Linked DNA regions of Homo sapiens: regions 2 and 3 are each linked to region 1. Evidence: promoter capture Hi-C in 16 types of primary human blood cells and fetal thymus (Javierre and others, 2016). All regions are on one chromosome and are shown on one strand. Each heading gives the region's core, a stretch centred on a gene start or on the middle of the fragment in contact. The rest is flanking DNA. Distances are from core to core; before and after follow the strand shown.

Region 1 (4,086 bases), core at 1,044-3,543:
ACACCCTAAATTCTCTTCAGTTTAGTGAAGGTTTTTTTCATTACATATTCCTTGCAATTTTGCATTAAATGGACCAGCCAAAAAAAGTTCATGGTTTAAAAATTGGGTGGGCCACCTTCTTCATTTTTAGGGCCAACTGTCCAGTGCCAGTTTGGGCTCAAAAAAAGTTTACTCTTGGAGGCTTGACTATCTATGCAAGAGTGCCCCCATTGTATACTATACTTGTTTACTCACCACATTTTCATGCTCCACCAGAAAGTGGTCAAAATTGGAACACGAAAACTCTCCACCTCACTAACACCTAACTTAAAACTATCAGATGCATTCAGACAGCCAGTCTGTGTGGGAGGCAGGCTATTTCTGGGGCAAAAATATTTCCTGGAACCACTGTTTCTGGCCCCAGACATGGCTCATTCTCCGCAGACCTCCAGATTCCTCTCCTCTACGTTATGGAGGTGGAGCCACTACAACTGATAACGCATATCCATTTCCTTCTCTTAAAATTTGCAGTCCATACACCATATCCAAGTTAGGATTTCAAATTGTTATACTGTTTTGTGACTCTTTAGGCTAAAGTGTGCAGTTTCCAGACTTTCAGAATTCCCCTTCCAATATTAAAAATATGGTGAAAAAAGCCCAGTTTGAAAGAAAATAAACTTTACAAAAATACCTGAAAACAAGATCAAATACTAAGTCTCTTGCCAAAGTCTTGGAGAAAAAAAAAATGAAAGAAACGTTTAAAAATGGCAAAAGCTAACCAAAAACCTTAAGATTAAAGTATCACACCTGAAAAGTAGTCTCAAAGCAAGGAGGATATACTATTAACAAAGAAAGCAACCGAAAACTACAAAATATTTAATATTCACCATGAATTTCAAAATTACTTGGCATGTAAAGTACACACTGAGATTAATAAATTGTTCCAGATTCTGCACTGCCCAGGTTAGTATAAGGCAGTTCCTTGTTTTCGCCACGCTAAAAATAAGAAGGGTGACAGATTAGTGACAGAATGATCCCTGAAGTTACACAAGGAGGTGCTGAGTTAGAAAGCCATGACTCGAAGGACAATACCAGAATGCTGGCTGTCAACACTGGGCAGATAAAAATAAGAAAAGCTGAAGCATGCTGATGGAGCACGGTATTGTTTCCAGACGGGAACTATCCCTTAAGGCCCATGCCTTAAGCACCCACTCCGCCGTGTTGGGATCAGAAAACTCGACTGCCGCCTGCTCAGAGGGGGCAGGGCAGCGACCCTCCTTCCACCTCCTCCAGCGCGCGAGCCGCCGCCCCCTCCCGAGCCCGCTCCTCCGGCCGCTAGCTGACATCTCCCCGCCAGCCGGGCTAGCCACCCGAGACCCCTGAACGCCCTTCCAGGACCCGACGACCCCTCAGCACAGCGCCAAGGGAAGGAAGCAAAGGACAGGGGCCTGGAAGCGGGGCCCGAGGGGCGGGTGGCGCGCTGGGCTTCGGCCCGTCACCATCAAGACTTGAGGACCGCGCGAGCTCGGGAGGAAGGCGGCTGAGCCTCCGCCACCGGCCGACTGATGAGAAGGGGTCGCGGCTGACCCCGGCCCTCAGGTACGGGAGACTGCCGGGAAAGTCGCCGGCGACGGAGGGCGACGCGTTGGCCCCGGAGCCCCCACCTCCATCCCGACGACCGCTCTCCTCCCTCGTCCCGATCCATCCTCGAAATTCTGTCAGAACTCGACGACCTCCACACTGCCCACCCGAGCGCGGAGGTGATGCCGCTCTTACCGTAGGAGCGAGCGCCGCGCCGCTAGGAGGCGGCTGAGGTGCGCGCGGGAGACTCCGAAGCTAGCGCCGCCGCCAACAGAGCCCAAGGAGCCACAACGAGGCTGCCCGCGGGCGCGCTGCCTCCAGAGGGTTGCCCCACCCCCTCTCCCGCAGGATTTTGCGCCGGAGCCTGCAGTCACTGCGCGCGGGCAGGGAGGATGGGAGGAGGGGCGGGGCGTCCCGAGAGGGCGGAGCTGAGCGCCGGCTGCTCTGATTAACATCTGTGGGCCCAATGGGAGCACGGAAACTCCAGGCTGATCTTGGACTGACTTCCCTACTAACCCGTGACAGTAGAGAGGCGGGACCAATGGGTCTTTTTATTGCCGCCTTTCTGTCGAACCCGAAAGTAAGGAAAGGTCGGTTGGTTTGCACTGGCGGACAAATGGTCCAATTACCGCGGAAAAGGGACCTCTGAATCCAGATTGGCGTCCTCTCTACCTATAGGGTAGGCTCAGGGGCGGTGAGAACCAGCCCCGGATGTGGGCGCGGCACTGAGGTAGAACTGAGAGATCCTCTACCGCAGTCGTTTGAGGAGGCGGAACTGAAGTTTTTTCTTAATTATCATGTGACGGGTTCTGGATTTAATGGGGGGAAAAGGGCGGAAAAGGACAAGGATCCAAACTGGCGAATTTGCTGATCTTCGCGTCCCTCTCCGCTTTCCGGCCGGCAGCGCTGCCAGGTGAGTCTGGGGCTCTGCCCTAGCCCGCACCGTACGCCGGCGCTGGTCTCCTGATGCTTCCGTGGGCTGTGCGGCCGACCCTCAACCCATCACACAGCCAGCCCCAAACGCGCACACGCCTGCTTGGCTCCAGGGCTTCTGTGCGCATCCAGCAGGAACCGTGTTAAACTCCAGCATGTGCTGGGCTTACAGCCCATGAAAGGGGAGCGTCCCGGTGGGGCGCCGCGAGCCGACTGTCGGTGTTTGCAGAAGGGCAAGTATAGTTTAGGAGCGTCCTGAAGTTCCAGGGGCAAATAGGCCCCCAGATGAGCTAAGTTGTAAGCAGAACGCTGTTCCTTTGGCCAAGGCTGTTGCTGCACGGGCTTTTCAAAAGCGACTCATTATGAAGAAGAATAAATATGTGGGCTCATGAAGCAAAATTATCTTTGGGATGAGGCAGGTTCACTTGGTAGACTACTGGCAGTGGCGAGAGAAGGGAAATGGGGGCTGATACCCAGCCGTGGGCTATGTGGGTGGGGCTCTATATATGTCCATACAGGGGTAACTCCGAAGGTTTTAAAAATGAGTAAGGAATCATTAACAAATATTTAACTGTCTTCCTAGTGCCAGAAATAACCACCTTAAATGGGAAACATTTTAGTTGAGCACATTTTTGGAGTACGCACCTCCCCCTTTCTTGTGGAGAGAATAGTAGGAAACATAACGACTGCTCAAATTGATGAAGACGTAAATGTAAAACTGGGATCGTATGTCATCGTTGTAGCTCAGCATACAGGCGTACAATCCTTCAATCGTCATTTAAGTATCAGCAGTGCTTCCCCATTGAGGGTATTTCCGTGCAAGAACATAACAGAATTTTGTTGCATCCCACATTATAAATCTTGTAGGCACAATAAGATTGTTACTTGCATCCTTTCACCTCCAGCCCTAAAGCACCTGTGGTAAGTACAGCCAAATGTAAGAAAAAAATGAAGCTTGTCTTATCCGATAGCAGATGGAACAGTTAGGTTTAAGCAAGTGTATAATCATAAACCGTTTTTCAGAGGTTCACAAAAACGGCCTGATAGATTGGAGGTGGGGATTGTGCAATTTACGGGATGAAATCCATCCATGGTTATTAATCAACACACACCCCTCCAACCCTGCTTCCAAATTCAGTCCCACATCCCACTCTATGGCAGCCTCTGGCCGGGAAAGGAAACCAACACAGAAAAATGCCTCCTTAGAAGCAAAATTACTGCAGTATGAAGCCTTTGCCAATTAAGTAAACAAGTTTAAGTGCCACTAGATGGGTATAAGGGAAAAGAGGTGAGTTAGGAGACTAATACTTAACTGTTGAAATAGAACAGATGTGTCCTCTTGCACTGTGATAGCCACCCACTATTTAAAGTAGTAGAGATGTTGCACAGTACATCAAAGTTAGTTCTAAAATATAATTGAGCACGCTAATCTAGGGTATTTGGCTCAATTAGCCAGTTCCTTCACCTTTTCCCTGTTATCTTCCTGCATCTTTCCTCCTACCACGCATGCTTTTGTTCCTATCCCTAGCACCTTCTGATCTTTTTCTCTTTCCATCAAGTATCCTCTCTCATCTTCAGTGTCATTCCCCATTG
Region 2 (4,086 bases), core at 471-2,970, 1.5 Mb after region 1:
CGAGATCGTGCCATTGCACTCCAGCCTGGCGACAAGAGTGAAACTCCATCTCAAAAGAAAAAAAAAAACCTACAAAAATTAGCCGGGCATGGTGGTGCAAACCCAAAGTCCCAGCTCTTAGGAGGCTGAAGCTTGAGAATTGCTTGAACCTGGGAGGTGGGGGTTGTAGTGAGCTGAGATTGCACCACTCACTGCACTCCAGCCCGGGTGACACAACGAGACTCTGTCTCAAAAAAAAAAAAAAAAAAGTTGGGGGTGGTGAGGGGATGGGGGACAGGCTGGGACAGCCAAGCTGGGCAGGTGCCCTGTGGCCTGTCACCCTGTCTGGGGCTGTAGGAAACTGATTAAGGAGAAAGGGGAAAATACAGTTGTGAAAACAGGAAACCGGAAAGCTCTGTCCGGCCTCCTGGCTGCTGTATGTGTTGGAAGGAAAAACGTGGTATGGAGTGGGGGCTCCCCTGGGCCCTATCTGAAGAGAGAGAGACCACGAGAGGACCAAGTTTACCCCAAACCAGAAGAGTGCGCCCCAGGCTCAGGACCCTCTGGCGAGAAGTGCCCACATCCTGGGGACGGTCTTCTGCCCGCTGCTCTGGGACTGGAGTTTCCTGTTTTCCTGCCGGCCGTCCTGGTCCTATTCTTCCCTTTCCCCAGGGTATAGAGCAGAGTTCAGTCGGCTGACTGAGTTCAGACGGGGTGGGGCGGGGGGGGGGCTGGTATGCTCCCCACCCCTTCCCCACGAAGCCAGGGCAGGCATGGAGGACGAAGGCTTGGGGCTTCCAGGCTGGGACGAGCCCTGGCCCAGGCATCTCTCTGCTCCAAGCCTGTTGGTCCTGGCTGCATTTTTTCCCTTACTCTCTGTCGCCCTCTAGTGTCGGCTTTCCGCCACCACGCCTCGCCTTTGGTGCCCAGGCCTCCCCCAAAGTTTCTGCAACCGTTCCTCTGCGGGTTCCTTCCTTCACTCGATGACTCATTCAACAAACATTTCAAAGTGGCCTACGTGGGCGATGCAGAGACAAGGAAGACATGTCCTGGCCTCCAGAAGCTCAGAGCTTTGGGGAGAGATAAACATGCTAGCAAATAAATCACTGGAAGAAGAGACTGGGCCCTAAACACAGGCTCCCAGAGAACCCCAGAGACAGGAGTAGTCACGGCAGCTGCACATCAGGAAGGCCGCATGGAGGAGGAGGTGGCTGAGCTGGGCCTTGGCCTGTGAGCTCACCTGAACCCGTGGAGGCAGAGAGGGCATGAGGGGCGCCAGCTGGGCTCGGGGTATTGGAATCAAGGGCAGCGATGGGAGATAAGGTGGGAGGGCGCCCTGGGAGGAGCCAAGGATGGCACGTGCCAGGTGGAGTCACTCAGAAGGCCTTCCAAGGCCTGTGAGCTGGTGGATGTGGCCTCAGGAGGCAGGTTCTGCATGGCAAGGAGTTCTGTCTCATTTATTCAGTACTGTGTCCTCAGAGCCAGCCACTCTGCAGGGGACATAGGAATTGTTCAATAAGTATTTGTGGAATGAGTGAATGGGTGTTCAGATCTGCATGTTAGAAATAATGGGAGTGGTCAGGCATGGTGGTTCATGCCTGGAATCCCAGTGCTTTGGGAGACTGAGGCAGGAGGATCGCTCTAGGCCAGGAGTGTGAGACCAGCCTGGGCAACATAGCGAGATCCCGTCTGTACAAAAAATAATGGCCGGGTGCAGTGGCTCATGCCTGTAATCCCAGCACTTTGGGAGGTCGAGGTGGGTGGATCACTTGAAGTCAGGAGTTTGAGACCAGCCTGGCCAACATGGTGAAACCTCATCTCTACTAAAAACACAAAAACTAGCTGGGTGTGGTGGTGCATGCCTATAATCCCAGCTACTCAGGAGGCTGAAGCAGGAGAATTGCTTGAACCCAGGAGGCGAAGGTTGCAGTGAGCCGAGATTGTGCCACTGCACTCCAGCCTGGGTGACAGAGCGAGACTCTGTCTCAAAACAAAAACAAGAAAACAAAAAAGCAAAAATTAACGGCGTAGTGGAGTGCACTCGTAGTCCCAGCTACTCAGGAGGCTGAGGCAGGAAGATCTCTTGAGACCAGGAGATCAAGGCTGCAGTGAGCCATAATGGTGCCACTGCACTCTAGCCTGAGCGACAGAGTGAGACCCTGTCGCAAAAAAAAAAAAAAAAAAAAAAAGGAAAGAAAAGAAAAAAGCAGGAGGGATTGGAGAAGGCAATGAGGCAGGCTGGCCAGTGAGGAGGCCGGTAGGGCCAGGTGCTGAGGTGGGGTGGGAAGGAAGCAATTGCAATGGCTGGGAGCAGCCTGGCTGTGGCGTGCAGAAGGCAGTCAGGCTGGGCAGTGACGGAATGGGATGGGAGGTTGGGGGACGGAGCAGCCAGACAGCAGAGTCCCTAGGCCCAGTGCCATGCTCAGTGTGAGACAGGCTGAGTTGCAGGACAACCTCAACTGTGCTGCCACTCAGATGTGCAGATGTGTTTCACGCATCTCTAGCACAGGGCCAAGTCTGCTTCCCCGTAGCCCAGCCCCTTGCCTTGAGGCGTTTTGTTGAACTTGTTAGAAAGGGTTACAGAGATCACGAGGGCTTCTTTTTGTTATCTTTTTTTCTTTCTTTCTTTGTGTGTGTGTGTGTGTGTGTGTGAGAGAGAGAGAGAGAGAGAGAGAGAGAGGAGAGAGAGAGAGACGGAGTTTCACTCTTATTGCCCAGGCTGGAATGCAATGGCAGGATCTCGGCTCACTGCAACCTCTGCCTTCCAGGTTCAGGTGATTCTCCTGCCTCAGCCTCCAGAGTGGCTGGGATTACAGGCGCCCACCACCACGCCTGTCTAATTTTTTGTATTTTTAGTAGAGACGGGGTTTCACCATGTTGGCCATTCTGGTCTCAAGTGAGCCACTTGCCTCGACCCCCCAAAGGCCTGGGATTACAGGCGTGAGCCACCGCACCTGGCCAATCACCAGGGCTTCTGTGAACAGCTTCCGTGGATAGGAAACAGAGCCACTGGTCAGGTGCCCCTTCTAGTTTTGGGGAAAAGAAGCTGGAATGGGGTCATGTCATGACACAGCCCCAGCTCTGGGGACTGGGCCAAGGACACCTATGTCATGGCCCACACAGAAGTGGGAGCAGGGGCCACCTCAGCCGCACCCTCATTGGAGGTGGACCAGGGTTCTTAACCGGTGGGACGCTAAAAGCCTTCAGAGTGAGTATGTGTGTGATAGATCCAGTGTTACAAGCCACACTGCAGGCATGCGCACATTCTTCTGGGAGGGTTCTCAGCCTTCATCAGATTCTCGAAGAAGACCTGATTCAAAACAAGCTTAAAACCCACCACTCTAAGAGAGAGAAATGACGGAGAAGAAGGGGAAGGAGGAGAGAGAGGCTAGAGGCAAGAAAGAGGGGGAGGAGGAGGAATTGTGTATTTCTTTAGATCTAATAAAAGAAAGAAATACAGGCCAGGAGCGGTGGCTCATGCTTGTAATCTCAGCACTTTGGGAGGATTGCTTGAGCTCAGAAGTTCGAGACCAGCCTGGGCAACATGGTGAAACCCTGTCTCTACCAAAAAAAAAATACAAAAATTAGCTGGGTATGGTGGTGCATACCTGTAGTCCCAACTATTAGGGAGGCTGAGGTAGGAGGATTGCTTGAGCCCAGGAGGTCAAGGCTACAGTGAATGGAGATCGTGTCACTGCACTCCAGCCTGGGCAACTGAGTGAGACCTGGTCTCCAAGTTTGTTTTTTTTTTTTTGAGACAGAGTCTCGCTCTGACACCTAGGCTGGAGTGCAGTGGTGTGATCTTAGCTCACTGCAATCTCCATCTCCTGGGTTCTAGCGATTCTCCTGCCTCAGCCTCCCAAGTAGCTGGGATTACAGGCATGCACCACCACGCCCAGCTAATTTTTGTATTTTTAGTAGAGACGGGGTTTCTCCATGTTGGTCAGGCTGGTCTTGAACTTCTGACCTCATGATCTGCCCGCCTTGGCCTCCCAAAGTGCTGTGATTACAGGCCAGGAGCCACTGAGCCTGGCCCTCACATTTTTAATAAATAAATAAATAAAAAGGAAATTAACTTCTGTAAACCACTCTTTCCAGGCACCCTGC
Region 3 (4,086 bases), core at 519-3,018, 1.5 Mb after region 1:
ATTGGAGAGGAAAGGCCGTAGGAATTTGAGGAACACTATGACTTGGGGCCTTTTTTTTTTTTTTTTGGAAAGACAGAATCTCACTCTTGCACAGGCTGGAATGCAGTGGCATGATCACAACTCACTGCAGCTTCTACCTCCTGGGCTCAAATGATCCTCCTATCTCAGCCTTCTGAGTCGCCGGGACCATAGGTGCGTACCACCACCACACACACCTGGCTAATTTTTGGATTGTTTGTAGAATTGAGGTCTTGCTATACTGCCCAGGCTGGTCTTGAACTCCTGGCCTCAGGCAATCCTCCCATCTCAGCCTCCCAAAGTGCTGGGATTACAGACATGAGCCACTGTGCCCAGCTGGTTTTTATTTTTTGAATTGGCAGTGCACACACGTTACAAAAGTGTGAGGCGGCCGTATACAGCCCACAATGCTTGACATATTTACCCTCTGGCCAGTAGTTTGCAGACCCCTGGTTTATCAGAAACTCTTCCCAGCATGCCCATTACCTGATCACCCATTAATTGCCATTCTTAGAGGTAACTACTGCCATCCATTCTTCTAATTTGGTTGAGCTTGAAATAGGATTTTTGCTGCCTTTGAGCACTGATGTGACTCTGGCCTTGTGATTTTAAATATAGATAGTTGAAATTTGGTGGTCCCAAAACAGATATCTTGAATTAGAATATTTAATTCCATTTAAAGGGTAGTTAGGTGGTATTGGGGCACTTGAATCCCAAACACAAAAATTGAAAAGAACGTTACAGTGATTGGCTACAGACCCACTCCTTGATATGGCAGATAAATTCCTCTATGGGTTGTGGAACCTTGAAAGTCACTGTTGGCATTTTACTCCCAATGTTCATATTTCTCCTTACAAAAAGGACATTCTCGGCCAGGCGCAGTGGCTCACGCCTGTAATCCCACCACTTTGGGAGGCCGAGGCGGGCGGATCACCTGAGGTCAGCAGTTCGAGACCAGCCTGGCCAACATGGCGAAACCCTGTCTCTGCTAAAAATACAAAAAAATTAACTGGGTGTGGTGGCTCGTGCCTGTAGTCCCAGCTACTTGGGAAGCTGAGACACAAGAATTGCTTAAACCCAGGAGGCAGAGGTTGCAGTGAGCTGACATCACGCCACTGCACTCCAACCTGGGCAACCGTGAGACCCTGTCTCAAAAAAAAAAAAAAAAAAGGACATTCTCTAATATAACCGCCATACTGTTATCACCCAATTAATAATTCCCTAATATCAGCCCATATGCAAATTTCTCCAAATTGTCCTCAGAATGCATTTGATAGCTTTTTCCAATCCCCCTCCCGCACCACCTAGACTCCAATTAAAATTCATTAATTGCATTTCAATATTAGATTTCTTTGCCTATTTTTTTTTTTTTTTAAGAGACAGGGTCTCAGTTGCCCTGGTTGGAGTGCTTTGGACAATCAGAGCTCACTGCAGCCTCCAACTCATGGACTCAAACAGTCCTCCCAACTCAGTCTCCCGAGTAGCTGGGACCACAGGGCTGCACTACCACTTCCGGCTAATTTTTTTCTTTTTTTTTTTTCAACATGGCCTTCCAATAAATCTATTTTTATTTTTTGTAAAGATGGGTATGTTGTCTAGGCTGTTCCTGAATTTCTGGCCTCAAGTGATCCTCTCACCTTGGCCTCCCAAAGTGTTAGAATTAATGGGCATGAGCCACCACGCCTGGGCCTGATAATGGCTTGAGACCAGGCTACTTGACAGTCTCAAGGCCCCACGTTCTGGGTTTGTCCAGTTGTCTGTGCCTATGTCATTTAGCTTGTTTCCTGCCCTTGTTGGGGTACTTTTTTTGTCTTAAGAACTTTGCTTTCTCCTCCATTTAACCTTCTCACTGGTTCACTCTGTGTTTTTTTTTTTTTGTTTTTTTTTTGAGATGGAGTCTCGCTGTGTCACCCAGGCTGGAGTGCAGTGGTGCGATCTTGGCTCTCGGCAAGCTCCGCCTCCTGGGTTCACACCATTCTCCTGCCTCAGCCTCCCAAGTAGCTGGGACTACAGGCACCCACCACCACGCTCGGCTAATTTTTTGTATTTTTAGTAGAGACGGGATTGCACCATGTTAGCCAGGATGGTCTCGATCTCCTGACCTTGTGATCCACCCACCTCGGCCTCCCAAAGTGCTGGGATTACAGGCGTGAGCCACCACGCCCGGCTACTCTGTGCTCTTAAGCAACTACCAGCAGCAGAGCCTGTTACCTAAGCGGACAAGGCCAAAGCCACTGCTCTGAAAGGCCAGAGGGATTGGCCACTACCCATGGGGACCATCTTGTTTTCTGACTGGAGTCTTCTGGGCTCGGGGATTTGCCTCCTCAATCCTCTCCTGCCTCCCCTGGATGGGAAAAGTACAGTATTAGGTGGTTTAATAAGCACTGGCTTTGACTCACATCCTCACTTGGCCCACTGGGTCCTGGTGGTCTGCAGCTGTTCTGCCCCTATGCCTGGGGGAGGTGGGGAGACAGCACAGCCCACCTTATTCACTAGAGTTAACTCAGGAACCAGAAGCATGCCTGAGACACTTCTTTCATACTGGATCTACACTAGGGGAATCACAATCTTGGTGTTAAATTAGTTCTTCCCACTGTGGTCGGCAAATTACCCTACCACTCATTGGCTTGTAGGAGCTGAGAAGATAAATGAAAGCCTTTTTTTTTTTTGAGACGGAGTCTCGCACTATTGCCCGGGGTTGGAGTGCAATGGCGTGATACCAGCTCACTGCAACCTCCGCCTCCTGGGTTCACGTTGATTCTCCTGCCTCAGCCTCCCGAGTAGCTGGGATTACAGGCATCCACCACCATGCCTGGCTAATTTTTTTGTATTTTTAGTAGAAACAGGGTTTCACTATGTTGGCCAGGCTGGTCTTGAACTCCTGACCTCGTGATCCGCCCGCCTTGGCCTCCCAAAGTGCTGGGATTACCAGGCATAAGCCACCGTGCCTGGCCACAAGAAAGCCTCTTTTTACTCACTTAACCTGAAGCCAGATTTTAGAGATGAGGTTTCATTGGTTGTCAGTTTTTTTGTTTTGTTTTGAGACAGGATCTCGCTCTGTTGACCAGGCTGGAGTGCAGTGGTGCAGTCATAGCTCACTGCAGCCTCCACCTGCTGGACTCAAAGCAATCCTGTTTCAGCGTCCCAAGTAGCTGGGCTATCTGGCCTGGCTAATTTTTAAATTCTTTTTGTAGAGACTGGGTTTTACTATACTATGTTGCCCAGGCTGGTCTTGAACGCCTGGGCTTAAGCGATCCTCCTGCCTCGGTCTCCCAAAGTGTTGGGATTACAGGTGTGAGCCACCATGCCCAGCTGGGTTATGTTCTTTAAAGCCAGATAGCAAACTCACTTTTTATTCCATTAGGTTTATCAAAGCAGACTGCCTTCCAAGAGACGGTATTTTTTAGTGTTAAGTTGACAAGGGGTTTTGCCTGCTAAGTTTGCCGAGTAAATCCTCGGACAAGGATTGTGGGTAGTGGGCAGACCAAGAGTGAGAAATATTCTCTTGCCCTAAATCAGGAGACTACATTAGAAACAGACAAGATAGACTCAGGAAATAAAGGCTAAAAGGTATGAAGGACAAGGCAGCTTGTAGCTGACTGCAAGCATTGTGGGGTGAGTCTTTTTTTCATGTAATCTCCCTAAATACCGTCCAAGTCTCCAAGGTCAAACAGATGCCACCTCCCGCTGCTGGGGCGGGGCCACATTGAGTAATAATCATTGCTCCCCGTGGTATGTTAGCACTTCGATTTCTTTCGCCTAGTGGCGACAGAGCCAAAATGAAACTGAGTAAGTACAAAACAGCAAAATAGCATTGGCCGCATCCCTCAGGGCCTCACGCACGCACCAGCCACAGCTGGTCTGGCCGCCCTGCCCCATTCCTTGAGCCACAAAATGCTGCAGTGATGCTGGTTTGCAAAGCCCCAGAGCTAGGTCGGGGGATTCAGCATCCCTCCCGGCCCAGGTCTGGGCCCCCTCCCTACCCCAACCTGGGGGCTCTTGCAGTAGGTCCCCTGCCGACCCTTCCCGGCTCTGAAGCTGGCTTTCCCGGGGATCGCCTCTTCCAGA

What was found. Contacts are between HindIII fragments. The CHiCAGO score rates a contact against its expected background, and 5 or more counts as called.
Region 2: a fragment that was not itself captured here is called in contact with the fragment with the promoter of TMEM60 in region 1 in 1 of 17 cell types (neutrophils); the score reaches 5.1 in neutrophils.
Region 3: a contact is called between a fragment that was not itself captured here and the fragment with the promoter of TMEM60 in region 1, in 1 of 17 cell types (neutrophils). The highest score is 5.1, in neutrophils.

The regions. Positions count from the first base shown.
Region 1 is chr7:77,796,641-77,800,726 of GRCh38, reverse strand. It overlaps TMEM60 (transmembrane protein 60), which reads left to right and starts at 2,293. Exons shown (of 2, transcript NM_032936.4): 1 at 2,293-2,473. It overlaps PHTF2 (putative homeodomain transcription factor 2), which reads right to left and starts at 1,954. Exons shown (of 19, transcript NM_001395272.1): 1 at 1,756-1,954. RefSeq lists a silencer at 1,874-2,013 and an enhancer at 2,424-2,533. The HindIII fragment of the contact is 8,213 bases long and covers 1-3,449 here.
Region 2 is chr7:76,288,584-76,292,669 of GRCh38, reverse strand. No RefSeq gene overlaps it. Among named protein-coding and RNA genes, the nearest start is that of HSPB1, 12 kb to the left of the region's middle. RefSeq lists enhancers at 367-882, 949-1,258, 1,915-2,430 and a cis regulatory region at 506-1,274. The HindIII fragment of the contact is 3,173 bases long and covers 134-3,306 here.
Region 3 is chr7:76,318,543-76,322,628 of GRCh38, reverse strand. FPASL (fibroblast proliferation associated lncRNA) reads right to left here. Exons shown (of 2, transcript NR_186616.1): 1 at 2,182-4,086; 2 at 343-910. Among named protein-coding and RNA genes, the nearest start is that of FPASL, 2.3 kb to the right of the region's middle. RefSeq lists an enhancer at 3,519-4,086. The HindIII fragment of the contact is 7,938 bases long and covers 1-4,086 here.